Regions from separate parts of the Homo sapiens genome. Here region 1 is linked to region 2. Evidence: promoter capture Hi-C in 16 types of primary human blood cells and fetal thymus (Javierre and others, 2016). All regions are on one chromosome and are shown on one strand. Each heading gives the region's core, a stretch centred on a gene start or on the middle of the fragment in contact. The rest is flanking DNA. Distances are from core to core; before and after follow the strand shown. Region 1 overlaps EP400 (E1A binding protein p400). Region 2 holds the start of MMP17 (matrix metallopeptidase 17).

The links. The method cuts DNA at HindIII sites, captures the fragments that hold promoters and counts their contacts. A CHiCAGO score of 5 or more calls a contact.
Region 1: a contact is called between a fragment that was not itself captured here and the fragment with the promoter of MMP17 in region 2, in 2 of 17 cell types (monocytes and neutrophils). The highest score is 7.0, in monocytes.

What each region holds. Positions count from the first base shown.
Region 1 is chr12:131,983,888-131,988,863 of GRCh38, forward strand. It overlaps EP400 (E1A binding protein p400), which reads left to right. Exons shown (of 53, transcript NM_015409.5): 6 at 2,627-2,920; 7 at 3,818-4,003. Among named protein-coding and RNA genes, the nearest start is that of EP400, 36 kb to the left of the region's middle. RefSeq lists enhancers at 2,144-2,763, 3,436-4,086, 4,737-4,976. The HindIII fragment of the contact is 1,738 bases long and covers 1,469-3,206 here.
Region 2 is chr12:131,825,902-131,830,975 of GRCh38, forward strand. It overlaps MMP17 (matrix metallopeptidase 17), which reads left to right and starts at 2,492. Exons shown (of 10, transcript NM_016155.7): 1 at 2,492-2,752. The coding sequence starts at 2,594. RefSeq lists silencers at 2,357-2,486, 4,476-4,735 and an enhancer at 4,219-4,828. The HindIII fragment of the contact is 25,913 bases long and covers 1-5,074 here.

The sequences.
Region 1 (4,976 bases), core at 1,088-3,587, 160 kb after region 2:
AAGCTACAAGTGCTTTTTCTTTTTTTTTTTTTAGACGGAGTTTCGCTCTTGTTACCCAGGCTGGAGTGCAGTGGCCCGATCTCGGCTCACCACAACCTCTGCCTCCTGGGTTCAAGCGATTCTCCTGCCTCAGCTCCCGAGTAGCTGGGATTATAGGCATGTTGCCACCATGCCGGCTAATTTTGTGTTTTTAGTAAAGACGAGGTTTCTCCATGGGTTAGGCTGGTCTTGAACTCCTGACCTCAGGTGATCCGCTGGCTTTGGCCTTCCAAAGTGCTGGGATTACAGGCGTGAGTCACCGCACCCGGCCTACAGGTTCTTTATGTTTGAGATTTATGGCAAAGTCTTAAGTATATAACGATGAAATAATAGTAACAATAATAGCTATCTCTTATTCACCACTTGTGAGGTGTGGTGTCAAGCACTGTGATGAGCGATTTATTGGCATTGTTTATTTCCTTTACCTGACAACCTTATGAGGTAGAATCTTTACTATCTCCATTTTATAGATTAAAAAAACCAGAGGCCAGAAAAGCCAGCAACTGGGGGGGCTGTAGTTGGGAGCCTTTTGTGCAAGTCTGCAGGGAAGCCTTGTACACCCACTTTGAGAAAGGCGACACATGCCAGGGCAGCTGAGCTCTTCTAGGCCTTACATTGCTTGCTTTAGGTTTTTGTGGAAATGATTCTATTTTGAACACTTCCTCACATCGAGCCACATACTGACTTAAAGCAGCTCCGTGGTTTTTCTTAGATTTAATTTACCTGCCTGTGTTACTGAAAAACTCAGCTGTGGAAAATGGTTTTATTTTATTTTATCTTTTTTTTTTTTGAGTCAGAGTCTCACTCTGTCCCTCAGGGTGGAGCGCAGTGGCACGATCTCCGCTCACTGCAACCTCTGCCTCCTGGGTTCAAACCATTCTCCTGCCTCAGCCTCCCGAGTAGCTGGGACTACAGGCATGCGCCACCACGCCCTACTAGGTTTTTTTTTTTTCCAGCAGAGAAATGATTTATTTCACAATTTAGCTCTCTAAATAACTTTATATTCTCTCCTTAAGAACAACAGTAGAGGAAATCATTTACTGATCATTTTACAATGCACATAATATCTTATGCATGCTTAGGCAACTGTTTTTTTTTTTTTACTTTTTAGTAGAGATGGGCTTTTGCCATGTTGGCCAGGCTGGTCTGAAACTCCTAACCTCAACTAATCCACCCACCTTGGGCTCCCAAAATGCTGGGATTACAGGCGTGAGCCGCCACACCCAGCCTGGAAAATGATTTTAAAGAAGCGCTTTACAAAGTCTGTAGGAACCTGTTACTTCTAGGTTAGCCAGGGTTGGCACACTTTCTCAGTCAAGGGCCAGGGAGTAAATGTTCCAGCTTTGCGAGCTGTTCAGTTTCTGTGGCAGAAGTGAAGACACAGCCGCTCACGGACAGCACGTAAGTGGATGTGGCTGTGCTGTAATAAAGCTTCATTTCCAAACGCCTGTGGCCAGCCGGGAGACGGCGCTGCCGAGGTGAAGAAAGCAGACCCACGTCGTGGGACGGGCGCTCAGAGAGAGTGTGCTCTAGCGGTTCTGTCTCCCTTCAGCTTTTGAACGGGCTAAATCTTGTGTGAGCCTTCACTCAGCCCACCTTCCCTGCTCTCTGTGAATTTAAGTCACAGAGTCGCAGCAGTTCTCTGTGACTTTAAGTCTGTCGTTGAGGTGGTGCGAAGAGGAGGACTTTTCTTTTTTTGAGACGGAGTTTTGCTCTTGTTCCCCATGCTGGAGTAGAATGGCGCAATCTCAGCTCACCACAACCTCCGCCTCTTGGGTTTAAGCAATTCTCCTGCTTCAGCCTCCCGAGTAGCTGGGATTAATAGGCATGTGCCACCATGCCCGGCTAATTTTGTATTTTTAGTAGAGACGAGGTTTCTCCATGTTGGTCAGGCTGGTCTTGAACTCCTGACCTCAGGTGATCCGCCCACCTCGGCCTCTGAAAGTGCTGGTATTATAGGCGTGAGCCACTGCGCCTGGCCTGAGGAGGATTTTTTAACCCTTTTAGCCTGTCTGCCATGAGAGAGGCACACTGAATTTGTATTTTATTTTATTTTATATTTTGTTGAGATAGGGTCTTGCTTCGTTGCCCAGGCTGGAGTACAGTGGCACAAACATGACTCACTGCAGTCTCAACCTCCCAGGCTCAAGCAGTCCTCCCACCTCAGCCTCCCATGTAGCTGCGACCAAAGGTGCACACCACCACACCTGGCTAATTTTTAAATTTTTTTGTAGAGATGGGGTCTTTCTTTGTCAAAGCCCAGGCTCATCTCAAACTCCTGGGCTCAAGCAGTCCTCCCACTTCAGCCTCCCAAAGTGTTGGGATTACTGGCATGAGCCACTGGGCATGGCCTAAAGATAGTTCATAATGAAAACTCCTATTTGGTTTTGTGGAAGTGGGAGGATGTATTATTTGTGGACACGTTAGTGTTGGGCTGTGGATACGATGTGATTTGTCTGCTTGCATCGTGGAGCGGAAGGTGCTGGCAGTGCGCGTCTCTGGTGCTGTGGGCGCTCAGGTATTTGGCACCGTGGGCTGCCCCGACATCTTTTCTTCACCTTGCTCCACTTGTGCCCTGCCCTTACAGATGGTAGCATCGACAAGGCTCCCTGTGGACCCTGCCCCGCCCTGCCCACGGCCTCTGCCCACCTCTTCTACCTCGTCCCTCGCGCCTGTGAGTGGCTCCGGCCCAGGACCCTCCCCTGCTCGATCCTCTCCAGTAAATAGACCTTCCTCAGCCACCAATAAGGCACTATCTCCAGTCACTTCCCGGACCCCAGGGGTGGTGGCATCTGCCCCCACCAAACCACAGAGTCCTGCTCAGAATGCCACCTCGTCCCAAGACAGTTCTCAGGATACGCTGACAGAACAAATAACTCTGGTAAGCATGCTTAAGAAAGTTGTAAAATGTACTCCAGTTGGTGAAGCACATTTAGTTTTAATTGTCAAGAATGTGATGGCGTAAAACCGAATGCCTGGTCAATTCAGCATGGCTTGGGAATCAGTAGACACAAGATGAAAACCAAGGGTTAGCCTTTTCTGTTGGAAGCAGACTCATGGGGGCAGTCTGCGTTTTTGTGATAAAGCCTGCAGTCTTGGGCTGCTTTCATATGGGCAGTAGACGAGGGTGGGAGAGGTCACGTGTAGCAGTTAGGCGGAGAGGGACAAGCTTGAGCGCTGGGGCCCTGCAGGCTGTGAGGTCCCTGCAGCCACCAGTCTGCAGCCCTGTGTTTGAGAGTCACTGCCCAGCCCTTAGCACTTACTTTGGGTTGGATGACTAAGCATTTATTTTGTTCAACTTCATTAGGGGAATTAAAAGAAATGTGTATCAAAATAGAGTGTCATAAACCCCATGTTCCCCATTATTTGATTTTATCACAGTGATCAGTATGCAGCTAGTCTCATTTCATTTATCCCACTCCTTTCCAGATTATCTAGAAGCAAATTCCAGACATCCTATGGTTTCCCATGTAAACACTTTGGTAGAAACATGAGGTTTTAAAGTTTTAGTCTGTTTTATAGAGCTGGGGCAGGACTATTGCTCCAGCTTCTTCTAAGGCTCCTGGAAGGGTCACATGCTCCTAGACCTCTCCTAGAACCACTTTGACCTTTGTGTTCGAATCTTACCTTTGATATTAAACTGGGACCTTGTGCTTTCTCTCTTTCTTAGTGCCTGACTGAGCCTTTTGCATAGTAGGGCTTCAAATTTCTGGGGTCTGAGTTGGTGGAACACACTCATCACATGCCGACCCCACCATCCCCCATGTATCATCTACAGGAGAACCAGGTGCATCAGCGCATTGCGGAGCTGAGGAAAGCAGGTCTGTGGTCCCAGAGGCGTCTGCCAAAGCTGCAGGAGGCCCCACGCCCCAAGTCCCACTGGGACTATCTGCTGGAGGAGATGCAGTGGATGGCCACAGACTTTGCCCAGGAGAGGAGGTGGAAGGTGGCTGCTGCGAAGAAGGTGGGTTGGAATGCGTGGAGCTGCTGTGCTGTGTGCGTTGGTGGGGGCTTGAGTTTGCAGTGGTGTAAGTGGTGGGGAGGTCTCCAGACCCACTTTTTTTTTTTTTTTTTTTTTTTTTCCCCCAGACAGGGTCTTGCTCTGTTGTCCAGGCTGGAATGTCCAGCTAATTTTGTGTTTTTTGCCACATTACCCAGACTGGTCTTGAATCCTGGGCTCAAGTGATTGCTCGCCTCGGCCTCCTGGAGTGCTGGGATTGCAGGCGTGAACCACTGTGCCTGGCAGACTCACTCTAGAGGCCTTAACCTGTGAAGTCTGGGAAGGATACTTCCCTGTTGTTTGGAGAATAACTGTGCTGTGTAATTAAGTCTCTGAGGTGGTGTCTTCAGAGCCCAGCATGCGTTGTTGGGATCAAGCCTGTGCTCAGTGCTCACCCACTAAGCAATGATGTGGATTTAGCTTCATTTTGTTGCCTGGCTTTGCCTGGCAGTTGGAGTTAGGATACCTGCAGTGCCACAGGTTCAGGCTGGTGGCTGGGGCTGTTCAGGGAGCTGAGAGGCTAAGAGTTAGAAGGCACCTGGTATCAGTCAAGGGACAGCAAGGGGCTGTCCTAGGCTTTCCTGCCTGGCCACACGGCCTCCTGCCCTTCCTCCTGGGCTTCTAGTCTAGCTTTCTCTTTAATTTTGGCTGAGAATTTATTTTTCTCCTAACTGTTGCCAAAGCAGGCGCAGAGTCCTTGGAAGACTCTGGAGGCCCTACTGCTAACACTAGAAAAGTGAGAACAAGTGGTAGATTTCTAGAAACCCCAGGCCTCAGTGGGAAGCAGCTGTGCTTTCACTGTGTGAACAGCCGTGGCCCTTCTTTATCCTCCTCATTACTGTGTCGCTGCCTCTGTTTCTTGGGCCCTAGGGTCTTTGTTCATATTTTCTGTACTCTTAACGCTATGGCCTTGTGTTCCATCCCTTGCCCTGTCCAC
Region 2 (5,074 bases), core at 1,242-3,741:
TTTCGCCATATTCGTCAGTCTGGTCTCAAACTCCTGAGCTCAAGCGATCCGCCTGCAATTCAGCCTCCCAAAGTGCTGGGATTACAGGTGTGAGCCACCGTGCCGTCATGATTTTTCAGCGTTGCAAAGCTGATGGGAGAAGAGCGATTTCTTGCGGGGCTTGGATCTCAGCGGCTTTCAGATGTCCGAATGGGGTGGCAGGCTTGAAGGGAACACAGCAGCCATGGTGCCAGGCAGCTGCTTTGAGGAAGGTCAAATTCCCGATGTCTAACCAAGCATCTCCAGTTCACCAGCCGCCACCAGGCCTTTCTGGGGAGAACAGTGGCCTGCCTGTAAGGCCCTTCTCACATTTGTACATCCCAAGCCACTGTCGCCCAAGCTCCATAAACAAGCCATCTCCCTTCAATGCCAGCAAGCCCCGCGGTGAAGCCCCTTGCCAGCACCGAGCTACAGCCCCTCAACAGCGTCCTGTTCCAAGTCTCAGATGTGTATGAGCCCCATGATGCAGTGGGGGCACTGGCCGCGTTCCCTCTTCTGAGTCCTCGACCCAGCTTTGCCTGCCATCCACCCTCCCTTCCTCTGACTTCAGCACCTCTGATTTCCTGTAGAGAATCCCTTCCAGCCCAGGGCTTCAGCTCACTTCCCTGCCCCTGGCCCCACGATCAGGTCCTGACCCAGAATCCAGAGAGAGGTGGCCTTGGGACCATTGGTTGAGAAAGAGTCTGTCTCTGGCTGGGCCTGCTGAGGGGGAAGGATGCACAGGAGCTGCCCTGGGCCGTCTTTGCCCCACACAGAGATGGACTGAGAGAAACCGCGTTCTGACGCTGTTGCTGTGAGACTTGGTCCAGCCCTGCCTGACTTTGGCACACGCTAGGACGCCACCGTTTCCTGAGCCCATACCCATACGCTTCCTTTCCTTGACTACAGCCGCTTTGGCTGGGTCTCTGCTCTGGAAACCAGGTTGTCCTGATGCACTTGGTCAAAATCCCGGATGAGGCCAGGTGCGGTGGCTCACGCCTGTAATCCCAGCACTTTGGGAGGCCAAGGCGGGCTGATCACCTGAAGTCAGGAGTTCAAGACCAGCCTGGCCAACATGGTGAAACCCCGTCTCTACTAAAAATACAAAAATTAGCTGGGCACGGTTGTGCACGCTTGAAATCCCATCTACTCAGGAGGCTGAGACAGGAGAATCATTTGAATTTAGGAAGCAGAAATTACAGTGAGCCAAGATCGTGCCACTGCACTCCAGCCTGGGCAACAGAGCAAAAAAAAAAAAAAGAAAGAAAGAAAAAACAATCCGGGATGTCCTGTGAAAGTCCCCACCTCCTACAGGTGATCCCATCAGTCCGAACCAAGGTCATCTGAAGCAGGTGTGGAATCACCCTGTTCAGACCGGGCCAGGGAGGCTCTGAGGGCAGCAGGGACAGGATGGGCCAGAGTACCCAGGGAAGCGGGGGGGGGGGGGGGGGGGTGGTTGGGGGGAGTCGGCCCTCACAGGAGGGGAGGGGCACCACTTCCCTGAGACCAGTTCTGGTAAAAGGGGCCGAGCCTCAGTTTCCCTGTCCGTAGAATGAGACCTCAGTCCTGACAGTACCAGCTGCGATTTGGGGTGGTGGAGCAGGAGGGCCTGGGAAGGAGGGGAAGCCATGCTGTCCAGCACGAGGAGAAGCTGAATAAAGGCAAGGGTTACCCTTGAACCTCACCCCCTGCCCTCTCCCAAGATCTCCCACTCGGTGGGCAGCCTGTACGCAACTTGCACGAGTTCAATCCACACAAGCGCCTGCTCGGGCTCTGACCCTGGCTCTGCCGCTTGCCCGCTCCAGGACCTCCCATAAGTTACTTCATTTCTTTGGGCCTCAGTTTCTTTGTCTGCGAAATGGAAATCATAGTTTTCATCTCATAAATGTTGTAAGTAAATGAAATTATTTATGTAACTCCTGGGCATGTGCCAGGCACACGCTGCGCTCCAACAAACATTACAAGTTAACATTCTCGCTCCCAGGCCCGCAGGGACCGCAGAGCCTCCGCCGAGGACCCCAGCCCCCCCAACACCCGCCCTCGCCCTCCAGTCCCCCGCGCCCCCCAAGCCCCACCCTCCCTCTCCCGCGGTCCGCGGGCTCCACCAAGCGCCCACCTGCTGCGCTGCGGCGGCGGCTCCGGGGCCTGAACCCGGGTCTGAACCCGGGCCTCGGCGCCGTGGGGGGTGGACCCGGGAGCGCGGCCGGAGAGGGGAGTCAGGGTCAGCTCCCCGCAGGCGCCCCGACCCCCGCCTCCGCGCCCATCCCGCGCGTCCCCGCCGCCCCAAGAGCGTCCTAAGACACCCGGGGAAACGCCTTCCCTGTGATGCCGCGGACCCAGTCCCGTCGCGGACACGGCGGGGCGGGCGGGGGTGGCAGCGTCCGAGGCGGCGCGGGCCCTTTAAGGCGGCCGGCCTCGTTAGCATACATTTGCATGGCCCCGCCCCGCCGCTTGAGGCTGCCGCGCGGGGCTCAGTCCGGCGGGGGCGCCGCGGAGAGCGGAGGGCGCCGGGCTGCGGAACGCGAAGCGGAGGGCGCGGGACCCTGCACGCCGCCCGCGGGCCCATGTGAGCGCCATGCGGCGCCGCGCAGCCCGGGGACCCGGCCCGCCGCCCCCAGGGCCCGGACTCTCGCGGCTGCCGCTGCCGCTGCTGCTGCTGCTGGCGCTGGGGACCCGCGGGGGCTGCGCCGCGCCCGCACCCGCGCCGCGCGCCGAGGACCTCAGCCTGGGAGTGGTGAGCGCGCGGGCGGGACGGGCGCGGAGCTCCTGGGCCGGAGCCGGGGGTCTCCGCGGGCCGGGTGGCGGGGACCGGGAAGACCCCAGCAGTGCACGTCGGCGTCGCGCGGGAGCCCTGGCGCCCTGGACCCATTTCCTGGGTGGGGAGACTGAGGCAGGGACGCGGGCTGAGCGACCGGGCGAGCGCACGCGAGTCCTGGGGAGGCGCCGGCTGCCGTCCCGGCTCCGTGCGCTGGGAGCGCGCCGCAGCCGCAGGAGCCCGTGGAGTTGTGAGGGGGTCGCCCACCCGGAGCCCGGGTCGCCGGCTTGCAGCAGCCCCGGAGCAGCCGGGCTGGGCGAGAGCAGGCATCGCGGCCGCCCCGAGCTCTGCGCGCTGCGTGCGTTCCGGGTGGGAGTGGCGGGGGCAGGAGCACGCACCCACAAAGCGAGGAAGGGCAGGGGCTACGGAGTGGGGGCACCCCGAAAGCCTTGAGCCCCCGAGTTTGCTCGGTTGAGGGTGTTGGGGGCACAGGGATGCTGGCCCCCAGCTCCCCACTGGACAAGGACCTGGCCCTCAGCCTCCTTCCCCTCCACCCCAGGTCGGCCAGGCTGGCCCTGCCTTGCCCTGGTACAGTGCTGAGCCGGGGGCGCGGGGAGAGCCTTCCTCACTCCACACCCAGTAGCTGTCCCCAGCTCAGCTTAGAAACCCTGCCTGGGGGCAGCGACGTGGCCTCTTCCTACAGCCCCCTCCCCTGTTCCGCAGCCGGGACTCGCGTCTCCTGTGGACCCGGAAGATTTAGAGCACACGTCGTGGGGTCAGCGCCCCCCCGCTGGGGCGGCCGGGTGAACTCCCGCTGGGTTCGTTGGTTCCTTCTGAGGCTCCTGCCCCACCGCTGCCTTCAATGGACTCCTACCCAGGGAGTCGGGCCAGGAGCCGAGGCCTCCCCGCCCCACACAAGTACTCGGCCTGGCCCTCGTCCGCGGACAGTCTCCCAGTGGGGTCCTGGCAGGGCCCCTCGCCCAGCGCAGTGGACATTCAGGAGCTCCAAAACCTTGGGGTCCAAGCAAGTCAGCGCAGGTGTATTTCAGGCAGTCGAGGCATATGGAGGGGCCACTTGGGTGGCACCCGCAGCCCCTGTGGTTGGCAGGACTTGGCCAGGGGGTCTGGATGGGAAGCCGATTTGGCCACCGTTTGCCCCAGGCCCCGAAGCCATCTGGGAGGGTGCTGGCCACTGTCCCTGCTGCCCGCGTCCAGGTGCCTGCAGGTCCCCACAGTGGCTTCCTTCCAGCCAGGCAGCCTGTGAACTTGGGGTGCCCCCCTCCACCTCCTCAAGACCCTTTTGTAGGTGCGGATCTCCCGGATCCCCCACTGAGAATCACGCCCTGGGGGCCTGGGGTCTCCAGCTGTGGAGGGAGGTGAACCCAGGCCCGCCTTCCAGGTCCGAGGGTGCCGCAGAAGGGGCCGGGGCAATGCCAGGGAAGGACTCAAGGTGGGGCCCACACACTCAGGAGGATGGACCCCCGGCCGAGCCATGTTGGCTGATCAGACCCAGTGCGGTTTGGAAGTTTCTCGCCACCCACCTGCCCCCCTGCCCGGAGAGAGTGGGTCAGGCGCCCTCCTCTCGGCTGGTACCTGCGCCTCGGTCTCTCCTGGCACCCCGGGGGTCACCCGCCCCGCGCCCTGCGACAGCACCGAGCGGAGGATGTGGCTCCCCAGCCTGGCCGGGGGCAGTGAGTGGGGCCCCGGTGTCCAGCCGGAGAGGGAGGACGCTGCGGGCAGCCCCCTGCCTGGAGCCCCGCTCCGTGTCGGGCCCGGCCTGGCGTGGAGCCTCCGTCCTGCCGCGGCTTCCTGCTCACACTGGCGGTGCGGGGCGTCCTCTGCTGGCCCTCGGGGAACCGCGGGCCGAGCTCAGGCCCAGGGGCGGGCGGCTTCCCCGCGGGGAGGGACGAGGAGGCCGGGATCTGGGCGGGAGCGGGGACTCCTCCTCCGCCCGCTCGCCGGAGGCGCTCCCGGAGTGGACTGATATTCAGGTCTGGGCGCCAGGGACGAGAAGTGCTCCTTTGTCTCAGAGCTGCAGACAGAGCTGCACCCAGCAGGGCTGGAGCCGGGGCTGGAGGGGAGGGCCCGCCCCGGAGCGCCCCCCGTATGCACGTGAACAAGGCCGGGATTCAGGCTGCTGGGCTGCGGAGCCGGGCTTTCAGGAGCCCCCGGCGGGGACAAAAGAGCGCACTGTCCCCCCGGGGGTCCTTGGCGGGGCTGCTTGTCCTTGTGGGCCTGAGTTTTTTGTCTTTCTGTGTTTTGAGTACGACATACAGCGAGCAGCCCAGGGTCTCCACAGGC